Linked DNA regions of Homo sapiens: all the other regions are linked to region 1. Evidence: promoter capture Hi-C in 16 types of primary human blood cells and fetal thymus (Javierre and others, 2016). All regions are on one chromosome and are shown on one strand. The core of a region is centred on a gene start or on the middle of the fragment in contact, and the rest is flanking DNA. Distances in the headings are between cores, read along the strand shown. Region 1 holds the start of KIF26B (kinesin family member 26B). Region 2 overlaps SMYD3 (SET and MYND domain containing 3). Region 3 overlaps SMYD3 (SET and MYND domain containing 3). Region 4 overlaps SMYD3 (SET and MYND domain containing 3). Region 5 overlaps SMYD3 (SET and MYND domain containing 3). Region 6 overlaps SMYD3 (SET and MYND domain containing 3). Region 7 overlaps SMYD3 (SET and MYND domain containing 3).

What was found. The method cuts DNA at HindIII sites, captures the fragments that hold promoters and counts their contacts. A CHiCAGO score of 5 or more calls a contact.
Region 2: a contact is called between a fragment that was not itself captured here and the fragment with the promoter of KIF26B in region 1, in 7 of 17 cell types (total B cells, endothelial precursors, naive B cells and 4 more). The highest score is 8.2, in total B cells.
Region 3: a fragment that was not itself captured here is called in contact with the fragment with the promoter of KIF26B in region 1 in 1 of 17 cell types (erythroblasts); the score reaches 5.2 in erythroblasts.
Region 4: a fragment that was not itself captured here is called in contact with the fragment with the promoter of KIF26B in region 1 in 13 of 17 cell types (M0 macrophages, M1 macrophages, total B cells and 10 more); the score reaches 10.2 in M0 macrophages.
Region 5: a contact is called between a fragment that was not itself captured here and the fragment with the promoter of KIF26B in region 1, in 4 of 17 cell types (naive B cells, fetal thymus, naive CD4 T cells and 1 more). The highest score is 6.2, in naive B cells.
Region 6: a fragment that was not itself captured here is called in contact with the fragment with the promoter of KIF26B in region 1 in 1 of 17 cell types (total CD8 T cells); the score reaches 5.3 in total CD8 T cells.
Region 7: a contact is called between a fragment that was not itself captured here and the fragment with the promoter of KIF26B in region 1, in 1 of 17 cell types (naive B cells). The highest score is 5.5, in naive B cells.

Annotation. Positions count from the first base shown.
Region 1 is chr1:245,153,047-245,157,084 of GRCh38, forward strand. It overlaps KIF26B (kinesin family member 26B), which reads left to right and starts at 1,939. Exons shown (of 15, transcript NM_018012.4): 1 at 1,939-2,441; 2 at 3,236-3,637. The coding sequence starts at 2,379. RefSeq lists enhancers at 75-750, 751-1,426 and silencers at 1,281-1,480, 3,348-3,887. The HindIII fragment of the contact is 4,692 bases long and covers 70-4,038 here.
Region 2 is chr1:245,958,817-245,962,753 of GRCh38, forward strand. All of the region lies in intron 5 of SMYD3 (SET and MYND domain containing 3), which reads right to left. Among named protein-coding and RNA genes, the nearest start is that of SMYD3-AS1, 150 kb to the right of the region's middle. The HindIII fragment of the contact is 4,538 bases long and covers 1-3,937 here.
Region 3 is chr1:245,931,045-245,935,133 of GRCh38, forward strand. The region is part of intron 5 of SMYD3 (SET and MYND domain containing 3); the gene reads right to left. Among named protein-coding and RNA genes, the nearest start is that of SMYD3-AS1, 180 kb to the right of the region's middle. The HindIII fragment of the contact is 944 bases long and covers 2,304-3,247 here.
Region 4 is chr1:245,978,064-245,982,340 of GRCh38, forward strand. The region is part of intron 5 of SMYD3 (SET and MYND domain containing 3); the gene reads right to left. Among named protein-coding and RNA genes, the nearest start is that of SMYD3-AS1, 130 kb to the right of the region's middle. The HindIII fragment of the contact is 2,367 bases long and covers 655-3,021 here.
Region 5 is chr1:246,109,679-246,113,804 of GRCh38, forward strand. All of the region lies in intron 5 of SMYD3 (SET and MYND domain containing 3), which reads right to left. SMYD3-AS1 (SMYD3 antisense RNA 1) reads left to right here. Exons shown (of 4, transcript NR_183265.1): 2 at 104-215; 3 at 1,653-1,851; 4 at 4,011-4,126. Among named protein-coding and RNA genes, the nearest start is that of SMYD3-AS1, 3.1 kb to the left of the region's middle. RefSeq lists enhancers at 373-874, 875-1,374 and a silencer at 1,929-2,223. The HindIII fragment of the contact is 3,194 bases long and covers 1-2,975 here.
Region 6 is chr1:246,126,740-246,131,107 of GRCh38, forward strand. The region is part of intron 5 of SMYD3 (SET and MYND domain containing 3); the gene reads right to left. Among named protein-coding and RNA genes, the nearest start is that of SMYD3-AS1, 20 kb to the left of the region's middle. The HindIII fragment of the contact is 2,599 bases long and covers 1-2,564 here.
Region 7 is chr1:246,038,292-246,042,657 of GRCh38, forward strand. The region is part of intron 5 of SMYD3 (SET and MYND domain containing 3); the gene reads right to left. Among named protein-coding and RNA genes, the nearest start is that of SMYD3-AS1, 68 kb to the right of the region's middle. The HindIII fragment of the contact is 370 bases long and covers 1,636-2,005 here.

The sequences.
Region 1 (4,038 bases), core at 689-3,188:
AACTTAACAATTAAAATGTGTGCGTTTCATCTTATGTATATACATTTTACATAAACATCAATTTTTGAAAGCTTCTTAAAAACTCTTGCAGAGCCTCCGGTTATAAACTTTAATCAACAGAGGGCGCTCGGAGCCCACCAAACACGCTTTGGGCCCCCAGCTACTTAGAAATGCAAATCAGAGCAGCTCTGGGCTCCCCCGTCTCCGAGGTGGATCGCGCAGCTCCCCAACACTCCCCCTCGACACCCCACCTTCCCCACCCGCGGCCTCGCCGGCTCGTTTCACCACACGCTGCTTTTTGGCTGATAAGCGGCTCGTGGCCAATGGCGATGATGTGTTTCGCGGCACCTACGCGAAATACAGATGCGGGTGGGAGCTGGCGCGTGCTGCCTGGAGGTGTACCTGCCCCCTAAGGTCCCCTATTGATAGGATCGCTTTTAAATTGGAAGTGGGAACGTAACGGAAACGTCCACTCTGTTCTTGCCATCTTCCTTTTGACCTTTTTACCTCGCTTTGGTGGCTGTGAAATATTCCCGCGCAGGAGCTGGAGCGGGGAGGAGTGGGGCAGAGCACGGGAGGCACAGAAGAAATTGTCCCCGAGGAAGGCAGAGTGGGGGCGTGGCCCCAGGCTTCCAGAACCCCGAACCTTTGTCTTCTTGCCCCCTCCTGCGTCGTCCACAGCTCAGAAGGAAGTCAGCGACCAGAAAGCCCTGAACGTCCTTCGCGCCCTCGCCCACCCCCGGGCTGGGTCTCCCCGCGGGCGCGGAGATGCCGTTACACCCCACGTGATCCCTGCGCCCGGCCAGTCCTTCCAGAGGCGTCTCGCGGGGTGTTAATTAAAGGTCACAACAAAACAGACCTGCTGGCTCACCAGAAGAAATGTCCTCCCGTGAAATGAAAAATGACACCCCAGAGCAGCCACGTGTGGAGCCTGGCATACGCCGGCTTCCTGCGCTCCTGGGCGCTGCGCCGGGGGACTGGGGCGGGGGGCGATCGGAGAGGGAGCGATGACGGGGTGCTCCGGAGACCCCGCGGGGCCCAGGCGCAGGAAGAAACGGGCGGCGGGGGGCGAGGGGCCCGATCCCACGCAAGGAGAGGCCAAGGCCAGCTCGCGCCACACCCCCTCTCCAGGCCAGAGTCGTCCGCGTGCAGCGCGGCGAAGCCCTCAGTTTCCCCTGCCCGGCAGCGGCCCGCTGGGTCACCAGGCTCACCTGTCCCAGCCCCGGGCGGCTTAGTCCATCACAGACCGGGGCTCGGGCGGGCGGGGGACCAAGGGCCCTAGTCCTGCGGCTGCGGTCGGGGAGGGTGGCCCCCCGGCCGGCCCGGGGTCGGTAGGGCAATTCCAGAAAAGGTTTGCCCGGCAGCTCTCCGAGAACAAAGGGCGGGGGGAGGACCCGGCATGTTTGTGGACTTGTTTGTGACTCAATCCCTTTTGCACGGCGTTTCACAGACAGACCTGCAAGCCTTGTCAGGAAGAGAAAGAACTTGGGGGCGGGGGAGGCTGGGGCACCGCATTTCCGTCCAGCCACGCTCGCTCGCGCGGCCCCCGGGCTCCAGGCTCGCGCAGCGGCGTTTCATTAGAGCCCCGGGCCCGGGCCGCGCGCCAGGAACTTCCCCGCACGCGGCGAGATCGACGATCCCCCGCCCCCAGCCCCAGCCCGGCTCCAGGCCTCGCAATGTCAGGCACGAGCGCCGCCACATAAAATGGATCCCGGCCGGCGCGGCGAGGGCGGCAGGTTCCCGAGGCTCCTCCGCGCTGCGCCCGGGCGCACACGCGCGCTGTGACCGCCGACCGCTCCCGGGCCACGCGGAGCCGCCCCTCTCCCGGCCCTCGCGCAACTGTCAGGCGAAACGGGCCGGCGGATATTGGCTCGGCGACACGCCGAGGCTCCTCCCCGAGTCTGGATCTTTATATTTTGGGAGAATTTCTTTGAACTCAGTTACCAAGCTCGGTGAAGGAGACAAGTTCCCACAGCTGACTCGGCTCGGCTCTCCCACCTTCCCGGCAGCGGCCGCGAGCCCTGATTGTATCCCTCGCTTTCCTCGTGGGGGAGCACGGACTGACTTGGCTGAAGAAAATGCCAGTTCTGTGGATGTGGCCGTGACAAGAGGACGTGCGGCTGGAAGAGGCAGAAGGGGACGAGGAAAAGCATGCTTTGAAGAGAAGAATAAACCAGCGACCCCAACCCTTTCTGCAAATTGGTGCTATTACTTGTGGGATCCATTTGCTTTCATTCCCTCCCACCCCACCGCTGAAGAAACCTTGCCCTGAGGGCTGAGAGCCAGCCCCCTGCAGCCGGGGGACGCTTCTGGGTTGGAGGACCTTCTGGATGTAGCGTCGGTGGAACCTTTAGATACTCTCCTCTGGAAAAGCCACCATGAATTCGGTAGCTGGGAATAAAGAGAGGCTTGCGGTCTCCACCAGGGGCAAGAAATACGGGGTAAGTTGTGACGGTACGACGCGGAGACGCGTTACCAGACCCATCTCGGCGGAGGTCCCCCTTTCCCCGGGATCGTGCGGCCCCGGCCCCGAGCTCTCCCCCGCTGCAGAGGCGCCCCCGGGGCTGGCGGGGTTGTGAGTGCGCGGAGGCGGGTCGGCCGCGGGGACGCCCGCACGCTCGCCTCGCTCTCGGAATTTTTTCAGCCCTCTCGTTCCTTCCTTTCCACGCACCCGTAACTTTTGCCGCATTCCTGCACTTCTAGGCAGAGTGAAGCCGAAGGGGAGGGTTTCCCATGAATGCTGGGCAGTACCTCGGATCGTTTAGCTGGAGCCGTGAGAGCCTCTCGTTTACCTGCAGGATCCGGAGAGTTGGACCCCGTATGAATAAAAATCCTGAAATCACAGCCCTCCCCCTACCCCCCCCATAGGGTCTTCCAGGATTTTGTTCCCGGGATCTTGCTGGGATAGGTGCCGGCTTCAAAAGCGTGGGGCGCTGAACCTATGGATCCCCCCCGCCTTGCAGAAGCCGTGGAAACGGCCCCGAGCGAGTCCCCTTCCTGACCCCAGGAGGAGGCCACCGGGGACCAGCGCAGGGGTCACCTGGGCGGTGGGGACTCACTTAAGGACAATTAACGAGACAGACGGAGGGCAATTTGGCCGCAGGGCTTGGAGAGGTCCCCAACCGACTCCCGTGGGCGGTTCGAGCGGGTACTTGGTGGCGCACGTATGACCCAGCTCCTGGGCGCTGCAGCCCGCCGCCTTGCAGCCCCTGACACCGGCGTGTCTTCCCCGCAGGTGAATGAAGTCTGCTCGCCCACCAAGCCCGCAGCGCCCTTCTCCCCGGAAAGCTGGTACCGGAAAGCATACGAGGAGTCGCGCGCCGGCAGCCGGCCCACTCCTGAGGGCGCGGGCTCAGCGCTCGGCTCCTCGGGGACCCCGTCTCCCGGCTCGGGCACCTCGTCCCCGAGCTCGTTCACCGGCTCCCCGGGACCCGCCTCCCCCGGCATCGGCACTAGTTCGCCGGGCTCCTTGGGCGGCTCTCCGGGCTTCGGCACAGGCTCCCCGGGCTCCGGCAGCGGCGGCGGCTCCTCCCCCGGCTCGGACCGCGGCGTCTGGTGCGAGAACTGCAACGCCCGCCTGGTGGAGCTCAAGAGGCAGGCCCTGAGGTTGCTCCTCCCGGGGCCCTTCCCGGGCAAGGTGAGCGCCGCGCGGGGCTGGCTGGGGAGGCGCCGGGAGGGCGGGGCCGGGCCGCCACCCACAGCAGCTGCTCAGCCCGCCGCGACCTTGCGCGCCGGCTCCACGCGAGAGCCCCCGGCGGCGCTGGGGATGCTCCACACCTCACGGGGCTCTAGCACGCGGGGCGACCCATGCCCCTTCCTCAGCCAGGCCGCCCGGGGGGCAGGAGGACCGAGTCCCGAGCGCGAAGGGGCGCCCGTGGCCACAGGCCTCACGGCCCACGGGGGAGGCCCCCAGGTGGTCTCTCCTGCCGCCCCCTCCCAGCTCTCCCTGGCGGCTGCAGGCTGCGCTTTCGATGTTTCTCCCCACCCCCACCTGTGATCCTTTACAAAAATGTCAGCGGGAGCTGTAAAAGCAAGCTG
Region 2 (3,937 bases), core at 753-3,252, 810 kb after region 1:
TCACCACCCTGGGGGAGTGGGCTATCTCATGAACCAGTATTTAAGCAGAGGCTAGATAATAACTTTCAGGAGCATTAAGAACTCTTTTTTGTTGTTGTTTGGTTTTTTTGAAACAGAGTTTCATTCCGTCTCCCAGGCTGGAGTTTGGTGGCATGATCTCAGCTCACTTCAACCTCCGCCTCCCAGGTTCAAGCGATTTTCACGTCTCAGCCTCCCAAGTAGTTGGGATTATAGGCGTGTGCCACCATGTCCAGCTAATTTTTTGGGTTTTGTTTTTGTTTTTTTAAGGAGAGATGGAGTTTCTCAAAAAACAAACAAACAAACAAACAAAAAACAAACAAACAAACTCTGGCCAGGTTGGTCTCAAACTCCTGGCCTTAAGTGATTGACCTGCCTCAGCCTCCCAAAGGGCTGGGATTACAGGCATGAGCCACCATGCCCGGCCAAGAGCTCTTTACACTAAGTGAGGAGCAGTGTTAGGCAAGCCAAGACATCCATGCTTGCTCTGTTATTCTACGGCTCCCGACAGCTCCAGATCAAAGTTTTCTGATGAAGATGGGCCAACATCTCAGAAGACAGGATGGCACAACAGTAACACAACTATCATAGTTAGAAAACCTGGGTTCTGGCTCTGACTTGGTTGTGTGATTTTTGGTAGACAGTCCCAAAAGTCTTGGGTGATTTCATCTCAGTTTCCCTATTTATAAAACAAAGGGTGAAAGGTAAGCTAGGGGGAGCTGACCAACTAGATGGTCTGTTAAACGCCTTCCAGTGCTAAGAGAATTGCCTTATTTTCCCATTGCTCACTGTGTTCTCTTGTGACCACCTGAAGGTCTCTGCCAGCTCATCTTATACCAGTGCTGTCTTCCCTGTTTGATGGCTCATTTCTCTAAATAAAGCATAACATTCACAGAACAAAATGAGTAAAATCTCTGTTTTTTTAGTTCACTGGACAACATCACTTTTCTTTTTTCATTTTTGAGACAGGGTCTTGCTCTGTTGCCCAGGCTGTAGTATGGTAGTGCCGTCACAGCTCACTGTGGCCTGGACCTCCCAGGCTCAAGTGATTTTCCTACCTCAGCCTCCTGAGTAGCTGAGACTGCAGGTGTGTGCCACCATGCCCGGCTAACTTTTTCCATTTTCTGTAGAGACAAGGTTTCATCATGTTGCCCAAGCTGCTCTCAAACTCGTGACTCAAATGATCCACCAGCCTCAGCCTCCCAAAGTGCTGGGATTACAGGTGTGAGCCACATGTGCTCGGCCACATATCTTTTTATTTTAAAATATTAATAAAACAAAATTATGCAGGTAAACTCTGAGTCCAAAGGGAAATTGGCATTGACTTACAAAATTTAATCAGATACTTAGAATTCACTGAGTTAACACGTGCATACTTGACCTTGCTTGATGCAAAGATCTGTGATATGTAATCATTTGCTACTTCACTGAAGATGTTTGAATCCTCCTTGTTGTAAGGTTGACTCCACAGGAAAAGACTGATTCACATGGCTTTGTTATCATTGGCTTTCTGTTATGAAAGCAGACAATTTAGGTCAAGGGACAACAATCTATTTTTCTGCCTGAAAATGACCCCGACATGAAAACCAACTGATAGATTGGTTCATTTCTATTACCAGCACTAAAGAATGGGCATAGGGCTGGGCACAGTGGCTCACACCTGTAATCCCAGCACTTAGAAGGCCGAGGCCAGCCTGGGTAACATGGGAAAACCCCCATCTCTACGAAAAAAAGACACAAAAATTAGTCAGGTGTGGTAGTGTGTGCCTATAGTCCCAGCTACTGAGGAGGCTGAGGTGGGAGGATCACTTGAGCCTGGGAGGTGGAGGTTGCAGTGAGCTGAGACCATGCCACTGCACTCCAGCCTGGGTGACAGAAACCAGACTCTGTCTCTAAATAAATAAATAAATAAATAAATGGCATAAATTAGCCTTATAAATTACTTTAATCCTGAATTTATAGAATCGTTACACATCTAGAGGAATTACTTAACTTTTTCAGATATACTTTGCATTTTTCACAGAGAGAAAAATAATTACATAGGCATTTTCACATTTGGAAGTTCATAACTCCCTCGGGACCTATTCCACAGGAAGGCCGAAGGCCAAAGGTCTCTTGTATATTATCTAGCTCCTTAAAATGGCAACATTTAAAAAAAAATCTAACCTCCTTCTCCCCCAAATCAATTCAGTTTGTTGAAATTCTTCCATATGCCTTAAAACTACCAAGGGAAGGCAGAGTCAGACAAGGTTTAAATGTTTGTAGGCATCTGAGAAAGAATTGAAAACAATCAGAGTAGAGATGGTGGTCTACTCTGCATTCTCCCTTGGGCGCTACCACAAAGGCACTTCTCTGTACCCATCAGCAGAGCCGCACATGCTCTCTCTTCTCATAGAAACAGGGTCAACCCTCATTTCTAGGAACATAATTTTCAACCACAAAGTTCCCTTCCATTTTTTACTTTCCTGACATCAGTCTGCTAAGTGAAGATATCTCGGTAAGAACTCCAATTTTAAGGGGAATGAATCTTTACAGAATGTACTTTATCTTGTCAGCACTTTGAATCTAAATTTCCTTCTCACCCTTTCACCCTAAAATATCAGCTTGCATCAGGCACAAAGGAAGATGCACAGCTGCAAGTGCTCAAGATGACTAAGGAAGGAAAAGCAGACAAGTCACTAATTACTCTCCAAACTGGAGGCCTAAATCATCCTTCTCTTCTACCTGTTGTTTCTGGAATAGTTTATGTCAGTAATGGAAAATTTAAACACTGTCATATAATTCCATTTTTTTTCCCCACTCCAGCTCTTAAAAACATCCTAGATGTTAAGATGTGTAGCCTAGGACAGTGGTTTTCACACAGTGCTCTAAGGAACCTTTAGAGCCAGACACACAGAGGAGGTATCAATAGGAGGGGTCTGATGCCCCTTCGACACATGTTACTATAATTAACATGTATTTTGAGACTGAGAATGTAGGCTCCATGAAAGCCGGGATTCCTGTTTCCTCACAGCCATCACCTCGTCCTTTTAACAGGGCCCAGAATACAGTAAGCTGCCGGATAAAAGTTTTTTGACTGAATAAACTGCACGGTTATTACAGCTGGGAACTGATTTCGCTGATTTCCACGGTAACCCTGTGAGGCACGTATAGTAGTTATCCTCACTTTGCAGATGGGCAAACTGAGGCTCAGAGCAGCCTGGCTTCCAAGACCCTCCTTCTAAACATCATACCACATGACACAGCCTCCCACGTGAGCCAGCAGCTGTATTTCATCTGTTTTACATGTGAGGTTTCCCACCATTTGACTGGAGAAAGGTCGATGTTAGGGGAGAAAAAACCATTTAAAAACCACCAACTTCATGGTGAAATCCAAAGGCTGCAAGTAATCAATCTCACTCCTTGCTCTGTTTTTCCTGCCACCCTTGGGACTTGACGCAAGTGGCTTAACTGCTCATTGTTTCAGGTTCCTCATCTTATTTTACAACCTATCTTGCAAGATGAGTATACATGAAATATTAGAGGATCCTGATGTTGTCAGAAGTGTAGTTTTGCGGATGTTGATCCCAGAATTGTGAAACAAGGACACGGTTGAGATGATCGCTAAACTCTGCCTGAAGTTCAACGCCTCTGTCATTGAAGACCTTGCACAGTGCCGTCCACATGGTTATTTTATTCCTCCATGTCCTTACCAACTAAACAAGCCATATGATTTTAGGTTTCGTGGCCAGACAGCCTGGCTAAGCTCCTATCAACATGTCAGCCAGATGAGGTGAAGAGATGGAGAAACAAACCTGCATGTGGGTTGCGTCGAACAATAAAGAGAAAACAGAGACCAAAAATCTTGTGCCAAGGTTTGACCTCAACAACCGCAAAACCAATCATTGCTGTGTTGTTTCACTATGTTTCTAGAAACATC
Region 3 (4,089 bases), core at 1,526-4,025, 780 kb after region 1:
GCGGAGCAAGAAAGTAGGGGGCAAAACACGAGCTCAAAGACGGAGTGGGATCACTTACGGCCCTACTGCCATATTTGGGTTTTGCTCTGAAGAAGATAGAAAGCCACTGGATTTTGAGCCAAGGCATGAAGGAGTCTGACTTCTGCTTTAAAAGGATCATTCTGGCTGTTGTGTAGAGAATGGGCTATAAAAAGGTGAATGGAAGTGGAGAAAATGGTTAGGAAGTCACTGCTATAGCCCAGGTGATAGACAATGGTGACTCGGATGTCGGTAGCAGGAGAACTGGGTAGCACAGCCAACAGGCCTTACTTACTGCGGGACGGCTTGTGGGGAATGAAAGGAGTCAGGATAATGCTCGAGTTTTTGGCCGAAGCAAGTGGAAGATCATAGCTACCATTTATTAAGATGAGGAAGAATTTAACAGGAACAAATTTGGTTACAGGGAGTTGAGAGCAAGTCCAACAGTTCTGTTTTGGTTAAGTTAAATTTGAAATCCAAGCCAAGACTAAGAATGAACAATTGGAGTTCACAAGAGGAGTTGCGCCTAGAGATATAAATTTAGGATGAAACATGACAAAGGCCATCAAAAAACAAAAAAAGGAGAAGAGGCTAAACATTTGAGATGAACCAGAGACTACAAATGGATGCTGACTTGTTATAAAGTTTCTGTAAAGGAAAAAGTGATGACGAATTTCTCAAATCAGGTTTACATGAAAGAACACGAAGTATGAAAACACACTGAGTCCTCTGAGACTCTTCCACTGCTCCAAACAGCTCTTACATGAAATCTAGTGCACTCTAGCATGATTTGGCTTTTTTCCCTCTAAATATATAAAATTGCAGTTTCAAATCAGGAGCAAAATTATACATATATATTTGTAAACAAATGCTAAATTGCTTTAAGGACAACTATTTTGCATTAAGCAGCAACAGTACATTGTCTATATATACTTATGTATAAATTGGATGGTAAAAATATAAGACAGAAAGTCCTACGTTTAATTTTTGAAATTTTAAACATTTTTAAATGTGTATAATTTGGGAAGGGATACAAGTTTTAACAAATATTTTAAAGTATAATGAGAACTTTAGTTGAAATAATCCACCAACAAAAAAACCAGGTCAAACACATCTGATCTGTTAACTTCTGAATCAAACCAGCATGGTTTTTTCCTGGACTATGAAGCAAATTAACGGTTTTTTCAAAATAGGAAAAATCTTTATCAGTTTTTTTCCATCGGTTTATTTCATGGATTCTGATGGAATGTTTAAGAAGGAAAAGCTAACAAGAGGAAATGTCAGCTTGCTTGTCTCTTCCACTGGGAAACTCTTCCTGATTTCCTAAGATGACTTCCCTCTTTAGCAGCATTTATCATACTGGATCATTATTTACCCATTTACTTGCCATCATACACAACTGGATCGTAAAATACTTGGGAGGGCAGACACAGTGTTTCATTCATCACTCTAGTCCTGTACCTGGCTCAAAGCCTGGCAAACAGAAGACACTAATAAATCTATTTCCTTTTCTTAGAGACAAGGTCTCACTCTGTCACCCAGGCTGGAGTGCAGTGGTGCGATCATGGCTCACTGCAGCCTCGAACTCCGGAGCTCAAGTAATCCACCCTCAGAGCCTCCGGGGTAACTGGGACTACAGGCTGGCACCACCACCTCTGACTAATTTTTTAAAACTTTTTGCAGAGACAGGAGTCTTGCTATATTGCCCTGGCTGACCTTGAACTCCTGGCCTCAAGTGGTCCTCCCGTCTCGGCTTCCCAAAATGCTGAGATTACAGGAGTGAGCCATAGCTCCTGGATTTCATCTATATTAGTCTGAGTGTTACGTGTTAGTCTTTCTGGGCTAGTAAACAGAAGGTTTAGTTTTTTGCCTACTCTCACTTTTATTTAAAATGCTGGCTCCATCCAGCACTATCTCAATTAACAACCTGACAGGAAATATTTTTGACATACACAACTGATAGCAACAGTGGATATGCAGAAGCTCTCTGGCTTTTTTTTAGTGCAAGAATAGGTAGATAATATGTCCATGTGTGCTCAATAATTTGAAAGGAATTGCTCTTTATATCAAGAATTAAAAGAATGGAAATAAAGCCCAGAAATAAAAGTTTAAACATTTTTCAAAGTACTGTCTTTGTGAAAACAGTTTTCTTAGGGAATTGCACAGGTTAAAACAATTAATGAATGCTTACTTCACAAAAAGATAACATTTAGAAAAAAATATTAATGGTACTACTTCAATAAAAAATAAATGCAACTGGGTTAATGAATTCTTTCTAAAAATTAAGCTTGAGTATTACTTTAGAAATTTTTACCATGTCTTAAAACTAAAACACATATTTAAATTGTTTTATTATTGAATGCAAAGTTATATTTACTTTCTGTAATTTTTCCTTTAAACTAATTGAAAGCCTTCATATATAATATTATAGTTTTTCTAGATGACAAAAATCTAGTGAGTTGTCATTGAGCCTCTGTATTTTATAAAAACAACTACAGTGAAACTTAAAATGTTCTGTGAACCAAATTCTTATGTCATTTGGTTCAGAGTCTAGGTCCAGAATCTGACATTTGTGTCCTGAGGTTAGCAATTCCCCGGTAGATTAGACACAAATAGCAAAATCAATACCAACACACAAAGTGAATACCTTACAAAATGAGTGTATTACCATGTATTCAAATTTCATATTTTTCCTGAAATTCTTAGGACTAAAGGCTTTGTATTGTAGCAGCAGTTAAACTGAGATATTTGCAACACAAGAGAAAATCACTACTAAGCCATTATCTTGCAACGGTAAAAATCAGAACAGCCATAAGCAAACTCACAACCAATCAGAGCTGAGTAATTCTACACCATAAGACAAGAACCCAGCCACTTCCCAGCCCCCTCCCCCAATTACTGAATTCTACACAGCCTATTTCAAATAATACTTTCAATTTCCCAATATATATACAAATTTTAAAACACATTTAAAAAGAAGGGGATTCAGTTTCTGAACACAACTATACAGAGGTTTCCTCCAAGACCATCTGCATCTCCTTTAAAACTTTTCTGTCTAAAATGTTCAGTACAGTGTCTGGCACAGAAGACTTTAGGCACATCAAGTTTACTAACTAGAGGGACTAAATATGAGTTTTCAAAACGGAGTTTAATGTACTTAGTTTTATTAAACCCTGGACAGAAAAACTGGAAGGAGGAAGAGTTGGCAGGTACGAAAACCAGAAGCAGAAGCTTTTACACTACATAACTGCCTCTGCCCCCCGGCACCCCGACTCCTAGAACTAATATTTCTCTAACTTTAAAAGCACAATAAGAATTTTAATCAGGGTATATTTTTCTCTACCCACAGAATATGACAGGTTATTAAGTACAGATTTTTTTCCAGAATCTTCTCATAAACCTTAAGAGATTAAAAATTGTATCTCCCAATCCCTCCTTATCTGTATGGCAAATATTTATCCATCCTTCAGGACCCAATTCAGTCCTTGCCTGTCCCATTGCCTCTTTTGGTCACATAGTTAAAGGGTTTGAAATCTCCAAACCAGAACAGCGGGAGGGGACCAGGCTGGCGACGGAGGTCAGCTCAGGAGAGGAGAGGCTATACTTCTTAAATGATGATTCGCAAATCCCAGAATCCACAAAGTGTTACCGGAAGGTTTACGAGAGTACAGGTGATTTCGGCATCTGTTTCAATTTCAATTAAAAAAAAAATCCATAATAGAAACAATGACCAACTACATTTCCCTTTGCCAGGAAGTTGCTGGAGGGTCTCAAGTTTTACCAGGGAGCATGCTGTAAGGTTGCGGGGACAAAGGCCCATGCTCACGACTTAGTCACTAAGCTGCATCTTCACTACACTGCTAGTCTTGCGACAGTTTGACATTATAGTTTTCCATTGTTTCTTAGTCACGTTATTTCATTTGCAAACCTAATGGACCCCTGATTAAAGACAGAAGCAAGTAGGAGATATGACTCCAAAGCACAATGTAGACAAATGGGGTTGCATCAAACTAAAAAGCTTCTGCATAGCACAGGAAATGGTCAAGAAAGAGACAACCCACAGAGTGGGAG
Region 4 (4,277 bases), core at 588-3,087, 820 kb after region 1:
CATCACTATACACCAGCACGCCTGGCTCTTTGTAGGAGCTGAGTGAACATGGGCAGAAGGAATCGTGAAGTAAACGCTTCCAAGTCGGAACATCCAGAGACATTTGGTTCCTCTCTAGGTGCTCTTACCCATTCCTAGTTCTACTATTTATGCTGGGAGGCATCTTCTGTCCCTTACTAATTGATAAGTTCATCTAGGGCAAGAATCATGATTTATCCATCTTCGTGCCTCTCATGATACCCAACAGTAGGCGCTCAAAAAACTTTTCCTAGTGTGTGCAGGCATTTAAAACTCAGTAGAAATTAACCACAATTGCAATGAAGTAAAATTCAACTAAGAGTTCCCACAAAAAATAAGTACAACAGTCACCATTCCAGTCATTTATAGAGCTGATCTGAATCCAGAGGTAAGTTTCCAGAATTAAAGAGCTGTTTTATAGACTGCGTCTTTCTACTTCACGAGTGGGTAGAAATCATCTTTATTAGAAAAAAAATAAGTGCGGGAGGGCGGGGGGCAGAGAGAACTATTTCAAAAGGTTTTTCCCTGTTTGTCCTAAATCCTCCAGAGCAGGCAGTTAAACGTTGAGTCCAGCGTTTCGGAGCCTGGCCAGTCTATTACAGGCCTTGGTGGTGAAAGGCAGAGTGGCCTCATCCAAGCTTTGTCTCTCGTCAGCAATGCTACCTGTGCTGGCCTTTCCGCCTTACTTCCCAAACTCCTCTCCCATTTCTCATTTCTGCTCCCATTTCCCCTTGTTCCCTCCAACACTACGAAGGCAAATTATGGGGCTCAATACTGAGAAGTCCTTTCCACCTTATTGATAATGAATTTCTTTCCTGGGAAACACCTGGGAAAGAGACCAAAAATTCAGGACAGTACAGCCTAATCTGAGGTATCTGTCCATTCTTGGCAGGTATGCATTGCTAAAAGCATGTGACTACTACCGTATATCAGAGAGCCCTTTTATGGAACGTGGCTCTCTGCTCCATGAGTGGGTGGAAATAATATTTAGTGAAAAGAAGAGTCTCGGCATCTTAATGAAAGAAACCTAGATAGGAGATGAGTCATTTAAACCCTCTCTCTGTCATCACACAGAAATAGCTTGAAGAAAGAAGGAGTCAACTCAAATGCCCAAGGAGGGCAATGGCAACAGAGATTTGGGAATCTTTTCCAGGGTAAAAACAACTGGGATGGGCTAGGGGTGAATAAGGAAGTTCCATCCTGTCTAAAGGTGTCTGTTATGGGGTGAATTATGTTCCCTCCAATAAGATTATGTTGAAGTCTTAACCCCCAGTACCCTAAAATGTGACCTTATTTGGAAATAAAGTCACTGTAGATAGAATGAGTTAGGAAAAGATCACACTAGAGAGTAAGTAGGCCCGAAATTCAACATGACTGGCATCCCAGTAAGAAGGTGGCCATGAGAAGACAGACACAAGGAGAGTTCCACATGAAGACGGGGGCAGAGACTGGGGTGATGCAGGTACAAGCAGGGAACACCAAGGACAGCCTGCTGCCACCAGGAGCTACGGGAAAGAAACGGAACAGTCTGCCTCAGAAGGAGCTCACCCTGCCCACACGCCCTGATTTCAGACCTTTACCCTCAGAATTGTGAAAAAAATTTTGTTGTTTTAAGCTACCCTGTTTGTGGTATGTCACCATGGCCGTTTTAAGAATCGAATACAGCATCCCAATTCAGACTTAAAAAACGCAAGATGACCAAACCCAGCCCCGGCAGCTAGATGGTCTCTAATTCCAATGCTCACTATTCAGTGGGCAGTCACATTTCTGTCAAAAACAAAAATGCAGTTACAAAACATTTTCTGGCTAAACAATGCATTCTCCTGGATCTCACACATCAGAATTATCTTCCAGATCCCAGGGGTGAGAAGCGCAGCTTCTGCGTCAGACACCAGTCTAGTGGACATCGCACGCTAGCCCTGCCACTCGCCAGCTGTGGGGCTTTGGGAGCTCTGTGCCTCAGTCTCCTCCACCTATAAGTGGGAATGATAGTGAAGTCGGCCTCACAGATGAGGATGCAGGGCACACTGGGAAGCCTGCTGAATTACAACGAGGGGGAGAACTCAGCAACCCAAGCGGCATGATCTCTATCACAGGCTGCAGCACTGGATTTTACCTTACTGTGCATGATTTTTCATTTGCTTTACTGTGAACTCACCTAGGACGGGGTCCAGGCCTTGGTCACTTTTGCTCTCCTTGCACATGTGTGGCAGGTAGTCAGACATGCCTCGGGAATGAAGGCAGGAATGTACTTCATCGACTCCACTCCTGTGATGTGAGATCCCTGAGGGCAGGACCCAAGTCCTACATCAACCCTAGAGCCCAGCACCAGGTAAGAGGCCACACAGAGGGCAACGAAGTCATTGTGTTGGAAGGACGTCTGTAGATGTATTGCTCAACTCTGCCAAGCTAGCATGGGAGCAGGAATTAAATGCTTCATTCCAGTTTCAAGGTCTGAGTTTGTCTGTTTCCTTTCTGCTTATCACACACATGACATGTAGAACAAATTAGGGTGATGCTTCCTCACTGAGGCTTTTTGGGAAACCTATTAAACCAAGGTGGAAAAAATAATTCAAGAACATGACAAATGCAGCTGTCAGTAACTCTGCAACAGGCAGCAAATGCTGAGAAATGCACTTATTCTCTATGGCTGCCGACGTTGACTGGAAAGCTGCTTTGCAGTCTGGGAAACAAATCCCTACTCCAGACTGTATGATATGGATTCTGTCTCAGTGGATTGGCATTGTCTAGACTAGCAGTCAACAAACTACAGCCCATGGTACCTCGGCCACTGTTTTTGTAAATCAAGTTTTGTTGGTACTCGTCCCTGCCTTTCCAGTTATGTATTGCTTATGGCTGCTTTTGAGCTACAAGGCAGAGTAAAGCAGTTCTAAGAAAGACGGTATAGCCCAGAAAGCCTAAATCATTCACTATCTGACCCTTTAGAGAGAGGTCTGTTGATCCCTAACTTGGAGTATCCCACTGTGATTACACTTAAAATTAAGCTTGAAGAGGACAGAAACCTTGTTTATCTGGGTCAGACCTATCTAGACGATGACCTACCTGATTTATAGTAGGTGCTCAATAAGTCTGCAAAGAATAAACATGAGGCCAAATAAATATTGAGGTTTTAGGACAGGTAGTGCCAACAGCACACAGTGCTAAGGGGATGCCTGCTGGGCTAGACCAGTGTCCCGAAGCTCTGCCCTTTTTGAGAGGATGAGGATCTGCCACTGCTGGGTGTCCCTTGGTTAACTAGCTACCTGAGAGCCCTCTGGGAGCCCTGGGCTGCACAGACAACCAGGACATCTTCATTTTAAGAATTCAATAGCATTGAGCTGTCAGGACAGATTAAACCTGACTAAGAAGAACCTTTCAGAATCCTTCTATGTATATACATTTACATTAGAAATGTTTTAAAGGAATAAACACTTGCAAAGCGGTTTAAATTTAAAGGTTCCCTTATACAACTGAACCCAAAACAGCTGTCAGAAACCAAACATTTATAAATACAAATGCTCAAGGTACCAAGTGAAAAAAAGATTTTTAGATCTAAAAGAAAAAGTCCAATCTATCCTGCCATAACAAAAGCAAAGAAGGAAACAGAAAAGCCAGACTTTCTGAGAATGATCCTTTAATGTTAATACTGAAAGCATGTGTAAGTTCTGGCTCCAATAAAGTTGTTTATGGTTAGAGTTAAGTAAGAAGGGGTCCTTTAACTTGGGAAACGATTACATAGAACTTGTTGCAGAAAGAAAGAATTCCATACTATTTCTCTTTTTCTATTTTGTCCTCTCAAAGAACTGTTGCTTCCATGCATCAGGTCTTCAAACCAGGCTTGGGCAGGCGAGTCTCCCAGCCCTCCCTCCAGCCTGGCTCTGGGTGCAGACCCACGGTCATGGGGACCTTGAGCACGTGGGGTCTTCTTTTAGGAGGGTTTGTGGAACTGTAGCTCTTTACATAGCCCAGAGACATTCTCCCTTTAAAGTTTTTGGGTAATGCTCAATTCCATCTTTAAAGAGGTGGGAGTTTTAATAGCACAGCTGTAATAGAATCACATTTCGAGTTTTTGAGACAGGATCTTGTTCTGTCACCCAGGCTGGAGTGCGGTAGCATGATCACAGCTCATTGCAGCCTCCACCTTCTGGGCTTAAGTGATCCTCTGGTCTCAGCCTCTGGAGTAACTGGGACCAGCATGAGCCACTGCAGCTGGCTAATAGTTTTTTGTAGAGATGAAGTCTCACTATGTTGCCCAGGCT
Region 5 (4,126 bases), core at 129-2,628, 960 kb after region 1:
AGCCTCTGACCTAGTTTTCAATTATTACCAAACTACTGATAATTGATCTCCTGGTCTCCAGGTTTGTTTGTTTTACTAAAATAAATTCCCTCTGGAGCTGCAGGTGCTTACCATGGGGCTGCGCAGGTGGAAAGCAGCCCAGTCTTACTATGAGGATGTCCGTTTGCCATCTGGGAACAAGGAGGAAGAAGCAGAGACCTGGGCAAGACCTCAGAGTAAGTGTCCTTTTTGGCGGCTCCCAGGGGTCCCCATCATGTGTTATAGGAAGGCAGAATTATTTGAGATAAGGATAGGAGCTGAAATAAGCAGTGCTAATACTGGTTAAAAGTTGGTGCTTCAGCTGCAGTCACAACAGATAATGTCTCTTCAGTTATATTTCCAAGCTATTTCTCATTTGGCAATGTACACTTACACCAAAACTGTGAAACTCTCGGAAGTGGCAGACCTTGGCAACAAGTGAATGGAAACTGTGAATTACAGTACATGCCACTGAGTAAGGGGTGCACATCTAGAAACCAGAAATCAGGTTCTGTCTTGGCTCAGCGTCTAACTAGATGTGTGGACTTAGACAAGTCATTTAACCATTGGGGATTCAGTCTCTTCATCTGTAAAGAGTTCATTTAGATGATCTCTTAAGTCCCTAAGATCCCCATTGTTAGGTCCAGGGTCAGGTTCCAGCCCATGCTGAGGCCGGAAGGGAGTGGGTAGATGAATGGCAGACAGCTGAAAGAACACTCAGGGGGCTACGGGTAGGTGAAATACAATTTTATTCAGCAGCTCTCTTACACTGTGTGTCTCGGCTGCTTGTTCCAGCCACTCCCAAGCACAGATCTCTGCTGGCTCTCTCTCCCTTTGGGGTCAACAGCTTAACTCTTTCCCTCTGAGCGCAAGCAAGCTGAGCTGTGTCCTGGCTCCCCGCTGCAAGACAGACAGATCTGGTGCTCTCTCTCTTTCTTTGGGTGCAAGCACGCCTGCACAGTGTCACCAGGGCAATTATACCTTTTAAAGACAACAGTGGCAAAGAGCCAAGTGATGGCCCTCCCATGTTATGGCTACATAGCTGTTTATATTACACATGGAGTTGCGCGCCTGCGCTACAGACTTGCTGAGTCACCCGGGATGTTTACCTCAGCCCATCCTGCCTGGCTGCAGTGCAGCCATGTTCCTTACACCTACCAATTTAAAAGTACTGTAATTCCATTTTAAGGGTTCTAAACCATGAACCATGTTCATGGTTTAGGATTTTAGATATTTCTCATTTAAACTTAGGAGCGAACTCTGCATTAGGACATTTCTCCTTTCATTGTCCATAAGATAACTCACCAAATCCTTGCGCAAAGAGAAACAAATATAAACTACATAAGAAATGACAGGTGAGCCTTACCAAGGACCCTGACCCATGCATAACATCTTAGTATAGCATATATATATATAGTATATGATAGAAACATGCCGTGGGCTTTCATACCCTCTACAATAGTTCATTATAAGTTTCATCCCCCAAAGAAGGCAACTTACATACTTAAGTTTTTCTAAATAGAATCCAGGTGCTTTCACCAGTGATGCTCTCCAAGGGATCCCATCATAGTAATCAGTCTAGCCAGTGCCAACTTCAGTTCTACTAAATTTAATGCCCTCTTATTTTGACTCAGGAATAAATTATCTCAATGGCTACTTACATGGTCCAGCATAGCAGAAAAAAAAGCCACACTGAGCAAGCAGTGGTCCTTTCCATGCTACACAAGCAAGAAATGCCTATAAAGACAGACTTGAGTGCAGTCTAAAGAATCTTTTGCTTTGCCTTAACACTCTACTTCTGGATATCCTTGCTCAAAAAGAAGTCTACTCAAGGTGTGTATCTTTCCTCTTTATAAGCCCTCTGGCCTCAGGAAGACTGGTTTCATTCATGTGGTCATGTTTTTGCACAGCTTAAGACTAAACTGTATGATCCTTCCTTCTGGGCTCCTACAAGGGCATGCCAAAGTCCCCTCAAATAACCAAAACGGTGCACATCCCCTTTGCGTCCCACAGCAGTCTGCTAGTTTATGTAATACCATAATGACAGCTATCTGGAGTGGAACAGTGACACTGCTTTTTCCCAGACTACTTCACCATGTGAGGTAAACGGTAGAGGCAGCAATAGGTCTGCTCAGTCTATGGCTAATACAAGACCTTGCTTATGATAGACTTCAAGAGCTTCTTATTAGCCAGCTGTTAATTCATACAAACTGCACAGAAATTCATTCTGGAGCAATATTATTTGTTTCACATTATACTTAACCTTGAAAAGGTTAGTTTTTCAATGGGGGATGATTATCCTGGATAGATGCATACCCCCTACAAACATGAAACTGGCAAGTTCACTAAAGATTTCTCAAGAGCCACCAAGCTAGCAAAAGTCGCAACCAAATAATATTATATACTCTGCCCTTCAGAGCAACCTTCTTCATGCTGAAGTCTTCAGTTCACAGAATGACTGACTTATTTTCAAAAGAGGAAGGCTGTATTGCATATTGTAACTCTCTCCAAATCTATACTTATGAGCTAATTCTTCAAAAGGTAAGATCAATTACCACACAGAAGGAGAAGCCATCCATTTTCTTGAAGCTGTCAAAATTTGAGCTGTCTCCCATAGGATTTCCACTGACAGTTAATGAAAAAAATCAGTATCTGTCAATTTTGGAAGAAATTTAAAAGTGGTAAGATATTCTTATAAATCGATGTTAAAATTTTGGTATAATTATTGTATATTTGGATTACTTTATTTGCTTTCCTCCAAATCATTTCTTTACTAAATTTCCCTAAGTTAGCTTAATAATGAGGTTTTCTTAAGGAGAAATCTGTTGGTTATACACATAAATTGCTAACAAAAAAGGGATCAGAGCTAAATGGATCCAATTTTTCCTCCTTCATATGCTACAATACAAGGCTACTGCAGAATTTACACCGTGAATAATGTGTATTTTGAAAACCCAAGCTTAGAATAGTAGTATTTTGTTTCACTATCAAAAGACAAAGCAAAAAAATAAAAAATAGGCTACACTAATGTACTTTTAAAAATATACTTGGAAAAGAAACGAAACTATTTCATTTAATGCTGTCTTATAGAACAGAAATGCCAATATATTTACACAGAAATAATTCAGCATCTTGAAGTATAAGTAAAAACACTAATGAAGACCAAATTTTTAGAGTTATTTCATACAAATAGAATAAATTTAGGCGGGGCACAGTGGCTCACGCCTGTAATCCCAGCACTTTGGGAGGCTGTGGCAGGCGGATCATGAGGCCAGGAGTTCGAGACCAGCCTGGCCAACATGGTGAAACCCCAACTCTACTAAAAATACAAAAAAGTTAGCCAGGTGTGGTGGTATGAGCCTGTAATCTCAGATACTCAGGAGGCTGAGGCAGGAGAATCGCTTGAACCCAGGAGGCGGAGCTTGCAGTGAGCCGAGATCACGCCACTGCCCTCCAGCCTGGGCAACAGAGTAAGACTCTGTCTCAAAAAATAAATAAATAAATAAATAAATAAATAAATAAATAAATAAATAAAATTTAATAAAAAGAGACTACCCATTGTTTCCACTAGAATTGCTGCCAAGGGAAATATACCTTTTAAGGATCAAGGCTTAGAATTGCTTTTCGCTTATTAGAATAAAATCTATCAGCAATCTGAAGAAATACATAAACAATCAGCAAATTCTAGTTAGATGGCTACAAACTAGGTAAATTACTAAAATGTGCCACATGAAGATAAAGTTAGTCTTGGTAAGAACAAAGGTTTCAAATAATTTTTGCTCTTAGATGTTTGCTGACAGATAAAATAGAGAACTTCATTTTCACCAAGTAACGCAAAGTATAAAAAGGCATCGGTATAGTGCTGTGCTGCTTTTGTTAAAATGGTACAAGGAGGAAAAGAGAGTATCTTCTAAAGTCCTTGAATGGGAAAGCCGTAGTTTATCACGTCGTATTATCACTTTCTATTTACACAGCATTTGTTTCTCCCACAGACAGGGAGGTTCCTGTGGACAGAAACATCTGCTTCCTGCTTATCCTGTATCTCAGCATCTGAATGGTCATGACTGGAACACAGGCAGACTTCAGAAATAAATACATAAATATCTCA
Region 6 (4,368 bases), core at 15-2,514, 970 kb after region 1:
TCCTCTTTAATCCAAATATATTCATTGCAAGTAGGTCCAAACATCTGATGACATCATTTTATCTCCAGGAATAGTCAACAAGTAAGCATTTACATAATAAAATGCACTGAAAGCTATCTTTCTCTTTTCTTTATATTAAAATTGTAACACTATTTTAATACTTAAATTTATGTGTAGAGGCAGTTATATTATTAATACATTTCATTTCAGAAATGAAGGGGATATTCCAAAACACATTACAAAGATGCAGCACTGAATCTAATAGGGTTAGTAACCACTGCTTTGGATGCACAGAGAAACCGTAGAGAGCGGATTCCAATGTATCTACACAGGAAGGTAAAGTGCAAAAGTACCAAAAGGTGATGCTAGCTCTGTAAAGGAAAATATCATTTGCTCATGATTAGAAGAGAGAAATACAGATTAATGCCATATAGAACTCTGAAAGGGCAGCTTTTCCTGTTCTTTGAGGATGCTTGGTTATTGTAAGCGGTCACAAGGCACCAGTTCCCATGCCAACCTGAGTCAACTGCAGCACCAAACCATAGACTGCATAAACACCTCAATATTTCTCATTCACAGAAAAGGTGAGAACTTTTTTGTCAATAACTTCAACAAAGATGAGCCCAAGTATTTTCAGAAATACTAGCATTTTAGTGTGATGATACTGCATTGGAAAGTTGGATAAAGTAGACAAAAGATAGTTGAGAAATCCTGTAGAAGAATTCTGTATTTTGTTTTAGTATTTTGTTTTTAAGGAGCTAATTTCTAGTTTGTTTTCTTCTATTTCTGTTGTCTGTAAGCAAAAAGAACTAATTTCCTTACTGGTCTAATCCCTAAACTCACTGCAGTGGAAATGAGTGAAATATGAAAAGGAGGCTGGGTGCGGTGAATCACGCCTGTAATCTCAGCACTTTGCGGGGCTGAGGCGGGTGGATCACCTGAGGTCAGGAGTTCAAGAGCAGCCTAGCCAACATAACGAAACCCCATCTCTACTAAAAATACAAAAATTAGCCAGGCATGATAGCGCGTGCCTGTAATCCCAGCTACTCAGGAAGCTGAGGCAGGAGAATCACTTGAACCTGGGAGGCGGAGGTTGCAGTGAGCCACGATCACGCCCCTGTGCTCTAGCCTGGGAGACAGAGCAAGACTCTGTCTCAAAAAGAAAAGAAAAGAAAAGAAAAGAAAAATACGAAAAGGAGAGGAGATTATATAGCTAAAATGAGTGTAAACATAGATTATAATTTCCAGTATTACTATTTTAATTATTAGTATTAAGTATGCATTTATTATTATCATCAACTTTTACAAAATGCAGTAAGGGTAGAAATGTAGGCGTAAAGCAAAGCCCTGTTTGGTAGAACAAAATCCTACTTGGTAGTAACAATAACAATCAAATACCTCCAAGTCACTGTTGAAATGTTGTCTTCTCCACGAGGCCTAATGTGACTTTCTATGTAAAACTGCAAGTTGCCCCAATTCCTGCACTCCTCCTCCCCATCTCTATTACGATGTTCAGTTTTATTTCATAGCTCTTACCAGTTTCTAGCATACAAAGTAATTTGCTCATTTATTATGGTTATAGTTGCCTCCTACCTCTAGAATATATTTCTATGAGGGGAGGAACTGTTCACTATACAGTCCAGCATGCTGAAAAGTGTCTGGAACAGGGTAAGTTAACCAGTATGTATTTGTGGAAAGAATGAACAATAGCACATACCATTTACTGAGTGCTTTCTATGGGCCAGGCACATTGATAAGTGCTTTACATAGAAATCTTATTTAATTTTTATTATAAAAGCCTGCAAGGTAAATATTATGAATCCTCAGTTCATAGATGAACAAACTGGGATTTAGAGAGAGTACAACAGCTGTTCTACATGGTACAGCCAGTGAGCAGTGGGGCTGGCCCTCAAGCCCAGGCAGTCTGACTTCAAAGTTCCATACTCGCCACAACAGAAACTCAGTAGAGCTCAGATACTCTTTTTCTCCCTTTAGGGGGTGAAAGGAGTATCTGGATTAGTCAGCTCCATTGTGCGTGTGTGTGTGTTGTGTGCTTTTTTGGTTTTGTTTTGTTTTGCTTTGAGATGGGGTCTCACTCTGTTGCCCAGGCTGGAGTGCAGTGGTGCGATCACAGCTCACTGCAGCCTCAACTTTCCCCAGCTCAGGTGATCCTCCCACCTCAGCCTCCCAAGTAGCTGGAACTACAAGCACACACCACCACACCCTGCTAATTTTTTTGTATTTTTCGGGGTTTTGCCATGTTACTCAAGCTAGTCTCGAACTCCAGGGCTCCAGCGATCTGCGCACCTCGGCCTCCAAACGTGCTAGGATTACAGGTGTGTGGCCCTCCCCACTGTTGATCCCATTCTTGTTCATTGCGATCCTTCAAAAAATATGCAAGATGGAAGACAAGGTGCAGGCAGGGGACAGATGGGGAATCTTTGTGTCTTCAAAATCTCTCAATTTTGCTATGAAACTAAAACTGCTCTAAAAAAAATTAAGCCTTTAAAAATAATGTCTTAATGCACTTGTATTTCTGAATAGTTCAATTTTGGGGTCATGAAAGCTTTAATAGGTAATTGTTGACTTAACACCTTTACAACAATGAAAGATTTACACCTAAACATTACATGAGGTAAAAGGAAATTTATTCATCAAATACAGTAAAAAAAAAAAAAGTAGAAATTAAGAATAGAGTAAAGCATGGTTGACCTCAGCTTTTTTGTGAGAGTTTCTATTTTCTCATTTGGTGAAACTATCTTTGAGGGACTGACCTTTCGACATTCAGCGCCATTTCCTTTGACTCCTGGCATCTTCTGCTGCATGTTCACTATTCAAAGTAGCCCAAAGGGAACCAAGACAGTCCACAGCTATTGTTTTGCCATTTAATCAAACCTGAATAAAGAGCTTGTACACATAAGGAAAGTAAAAACTCACTAGAGGTTACATGAAAGAGGCTGCCATGGAGAGGACTCGTCTGTTCACGTAACATGAATAATTTCCCCATCGAGTTGAGAAAGTTCTGAACACATTTCTTTCTCTTTTTTTTTAAAGACTGAAAAATGGATATAAGCCCATAGCACTTGTTAGCTAGTCAAGCAAAGAGTGTACTCACTAAATTTGTGCATAGAAACAATCATGATCCCACAGCAAAAAATACTTCCTTACCATGCCCTTCATAGCAGGCATTTTGAAAACTGAAAATTCTGCCAAGTCAAATATATAACTGTAGCTATGTCTACTTCTGTTTAAAGGCAGAGAGAAGAGGAAACTAACAATACTAATTCCATAATTTCAGAATGAGTTGCAAGTACAATATTGGAAAGAATATCCTCAGAAAACAGGTTCCCCAGAGGCAGGTGACCACAGCAAGTCATCAGGAGAAAAACTTATATGTTCAATTTTTCTATCATCATAGAATTCATCCCATCATAAATGGAGGGAACTCTTCACCTTGAGAGGCTACAATTTAGGATGAAAGTTTTAACGTTTAATATGTAGACAAAATTATCACTAAGATCATTTAGGGTTGTCCAACTTTTCATGAAGTTCCCAGGCCTCCATATTTTCAGTGTTATAAACACTTGAGCTCCCATTTATAAGCCCTGAATCCATTTTATGTCTCCCAAAAACCAAAATATTTAAATTAAAATACAGGTAGCTCAGATTGACTGTCTCTCACAGGAAGACCATTTATGCTAAAACATGCTGATTCTTATAGAGTGACTACCCTTTTAAAATTAAAAACTGCATCAGTGAAAGAAAATTACAACCTATATTTATCATTCAAAAAGAAGCTAGAAACCTTAAGTAAAAACAGGGCATTTTTGTTTTCAAAAATCCAATTTTTATTCTCGTTATATAACAAAGAATTTTAATGTCTCCCTAATCACAAAAAGAAAATGCTGTTTGGATTAAAAGCAGTAGTTACATGCCACTCATTGCACTCCAGACAGTTCTGACCTTTTTGTAAGAGACCAATTTTGTATTTCCTTTCTCCTGCCTGAACTATTGCACTGGCTTGAGAGTTGGGCTCCTTCCTTCCAGTCTTGACTCTCTAATCTATATTTCATGCCATGAACAAGAATTATCGTTCTAAATCGTCATAATCATTTCATTCTCCTACTTGGAAACTTTAAACAGCTCTTTACTTAATAGAGAATAACGTCCAAACTTCATACTAGAGCACTGAAGCAACCCCACAATCAAACCTCGTCTTAACACTCCTAGTCCTGTACACTACACACACTCTATGCTCCAAGGACTAGAAGCAGATAAAGTCCTTTCCATGGGCTCAGGAACCTTCCTTGTGTGGCTTCCTCATTCCCTCCACTTGGCTGCTGCTGAAATTTAAAATCAGCACATGTT
Region 7 (4,366 bases), core at 571-3,070, 890 kb after region 1:
AACCACAGGAAACTCAAAGAGGAAAGACTGTACCTTAAGCTAGTCAGACCATGCTACCACCAAGAGTCTTCTTAATGAGACAACTACTCATCCTTCTAAGACAGAATTATCAAAAACTCTTTCTTAAAAAGCAAACGAACAAATGAAAACTTTCGACGGAAGGCTGAGACACAAAATGGAGCGAGCATCCTGGTGGGAGCCAGGACGTACCTATCCACATGTGCCTCGGGTAACTCTCAGGCCACTGTATTCTAGACGTTAAAAAACACTTCTCGACACAAATACGAATCCTATCAAAAGAAAATTAGAAAAGTGTTTTCTAGGTGATCGCTGTATAAAAATTTCACAAATCACCCATTCTATCAGGCTTTGCCTAGCTCCAACATCTTTCCGACATCAGTGACATGGGGGCATCTGTTAGAGTTCTTACAACTAGGGGATCTCTCGGGATTTCCACTTCATACTCATTCTTCTGTTCCTGCATGACTGTGCTCCAGGGTCTAAAGGCTCCTAGCCTTAGTTTGTAATGAATTTAGTTTTTGCATTCTATAAATTTAAAACAAATATCTTTGTGGAAATTTTGTAAGTAGAAACAGGGAAAGTAAAATGTTGCCAATTAAAATACATGTTATTTGCATAAAATAGGCAAGACTTTCAGGAAAAAAACACTGGGGAAAGGATGGGAAAAAGAACAAACAAATAAACAAAAATTGGCCGTTCAAGTCTCTACCAGAGTTTAATATTTTAAAGTCACAATTTCCTTTCCTTGTTTTCTCCTACCATGGAGAAGCAGACACAGTTATAAGTGAAGGAACAAAACATAGACCGTGGAAATTTGGAGGTTTCAGCATGGATTTGCATCCTAAAAAATACAAATAGCAATGTGTAATAACAATTTAAAATCTCTCTTGTTGAATTACAAAAATTATCCTGGCAATTGTAGTCGGTTGCTCTGTCCTGACCAAAACAAAGTTATTCATATTTATATGCCCTCATCCCCATATACATGCATATTGAGATGTATATTTTATTTATATGTTCATCTAGATGTAAACATAGGTATATGCAGATATGCACCCACCACACTTCACTATACTGTCTACAACATGCATATTAGAAAATGTGTATTTACCGAAACCAACATATAAAACCAAAGTGGCAAAGGCTTTGGGGAATAAGAAAGACACAGCTCTGTAATAAGTCTAACACCTGTGAATGATCTGTAGCAGCCTTCGAAATGTGGGATTGCTGTATCCCTCAAACTGATACTACAAACTGAGATTTCATGTCTCCATTTACACAAATTGATTCCATAAATTCTACTAAGCGCCAATGGGTAAGACTCACAGCATGTGAGATCAAAAGAGTAGGAGTAACTGGCGACAGTTTAGTTGAGCCACAAGATGACAAACATCAGTCACAGGGTAGTAAGGAGGGGAGAATCATCCAGAGAAAAGCCGTGGAGAGGCGTTTTCTCAATTGATTAGGTCATGCTGTAATGGAGCCAAGGGCGCAGGTTCAGTACTCTCTGCCAATGACCTATATTGTATTTCAAAGACACAGACCAGGCCCAATAGTTCTCAACATCTTGCCACTAGATCAAAAGGGATATGAGAAGAAGAGTGGCTAAGCCCAAGCTTATTTCAAGTACTAGAAAAGTAACAACATTAACGCAGCATTGATTAGTACCATTGTCTTAGCGTAAGTTACAGTTAACGTCCGACATGATCTGTGATGTAATAGAATTAAGTAAGACATTTCTCCCGGCTAGTATTAAACTGTATTTATTCAGTCAACCTTACAAGATCCTATCATGAAACAGAAATAGCATTCACTTTTCAAATAGCTGTATTCTAACACGTGGTTTGCAATTAATATTGGGCTGTTTTGGATATTTCCTGTATTACATATACAACCGGGATATTAATAACAACAAAGATGAAAACAGAAGAGGATTTATGTAGCTCCGGAGGGGTTCAATAAGTAGGAACATGACCCGGATTCAAGCTTCCTGGCACAGACACCCCACCATCACAGCTTATTCAGAAATTAAATACTTGTGCTTCGCCACCACAAACGCAAGTGCTGCCGCTTATCTTTTTTCTCACGAAAATGTGACCTTGGGCTCAGAATGGTGCTGACCCAACGTCTCACTTCTCTTAGAAGAAGTATCTCAATGAAGCTGATGCTGCCGTCTGAGCACTGCTTTCTCGTAGGAATTTGCCAAATTAACCCAAAATGCAGCCAGCCACCAAACAGAGAAACAATTTAAGTTTAGCCACGTGGGGATAAATCCTTCTGGATGTCAAGGTCCTCAGCTGGGGCTTATATTAAACCAGTAGTTACCGACTCCATTCCCCAGAACAAAATGACTCATGGGGCTCCCGTATCTCCTTTCATTTGAAAAGGTGCTGAGGTGGTAAAATATTCTGAAAACTCCTGTAGTCATTGATTCCTCAGTTCTTATAGAGCGCTAGAATTTTGTGGTCTACATGTCACTGATTGTAACACATCTTAATATTTGCTGCTTAGAAATATGTTTGAAAATCATGTAAAATATCGCACAAATAGCAAATAACTAGAAGATAGATGGTTGTGTCTTTTTCCCTCTCTGATATATATAAATTCTCCAAGAACCACATGGTAGAAAAAAGACAGATATATAGTCACGCACTGCATAATGACATTTCAGTCAAGGACAGAACACACATACAATGGTGGTCCCATAAGATTATAATACTGTATTTTTACTATTCCTTTTCTATGTTTAGATACACAAATACTTAACCTTGTGTTAAAATTGCCTCAGCATTCAGTACAGTAACATGCTGTTCGGGTTTATAGCCCAGGAGCAAGAGACGATACTTCACAGCCCAGGTGTATAGTGGGCTATACCATCCAGGTCTGTGTAGGTACCTCTATGATGTTTGCTCAGCTATGAAGTTGCCTGAAGATGCACTTCCCAGAAAATATTCCCACCCTTAAGCAACACACGCTGGACCCACCATCCTGAGGGTGGAAAGAAGCTCTTTAGAGTCCCCACAGAGTGAAATGACTTCATGTTTCTCACTCTCTCTCCTCAGTGCGGACTTCAAAATAAAAATACTAATCATCAAAAGACAAAATTCTGCATATGCTGAAACCTACATAACAGCATTCTGAAGTTTCTAATAGTAAGTTTCTTATTAGCTTGTCCCAAGTTAAACTTCTTTTGTGAAAGGAAAGTCTCTGTGTGTGTGTGCCTGGGCATGTATCCCAGTGTTGCCAGGGCCCTACGTCGTATGCACACGATAAGTCCAAGACCTGTAGTGGGTAAACTCAGCAATGTTCATACTCTCTAAGTAGGTAACGCTAAAGGAAGAGAGAGAAAAACATTCATAGCCTGAGTGATCACATAAACTGGGTATATCAGAAAAATCATGACTTCTGGTTCTGGAAGAGAATTGGAGGGGGTATAACCTCTCTTCCAATGGACGGACTCAGAGTTATACCTAGCTCAATCTAGATGGTATGTAATCTTTATTGGGAAAAAAAAAAAGGGTGACTAAATACATACGCTTTAATCATAATTTGTATTCCTAGATGAAACTACCAATAAAAATTGCTACCTGCGTATTTCCTGGGCCCTTATGAGGTACACTCTGAAACACTTTTTCTAACACTCTCCACCACAAAATTGGTTTTATTGCTTTCATTTCATAGTTGAGAAAATGATGGATTCAAAAAGATTAAGCAATTTGTTCAAGGTCTTATGACTGATAAGTCACATTTTGAGGATGGGACCCCAAGTCCATTTGATTTGAATGCCCATAATCCTCTAACTGCAGAAAGCTTCAAGTTTTCTGTGTGTTCTGGAAGGCACAGCTACAAAGAAAAGCTAATATTTCCCTCTAAATTCTACCTTTATATAGCTCATCATTTGAATTTATAACACTCTCCAGCAGTAACAAATACTTACGTTTCTCTGGATTCACAGATATATACTAAATATTTTAAGAATGGAGAGAAACTAAGATTGGAAACAAATTAATATGACAGGAAAAAAACTGTGGAGGAAAATCCATGGGAACGTATAAGAATATAACTGTAATTCAAGAGCCACATACTCAGGGTTTGTAAAAATTCCTAACTGCAGATTAAGCAGTGAGGAGCTCAGCACCTTCCACAGGTTCACACTCCAAGCCACGGAGCACTCAGTGGCACCGGTCTGCTCTTTGGGAACACCGTTCAATTACCTCTCTCCATGTAAGGACTTCGCATTATTAGTGAACCGATTCTAACACAGGAACCTCCTATGATGTCTTAAGTTCAGAATATTTCTCCCTGATCACCCCAGAAGAAATCAGAGCTGCGTTAATCAATCATT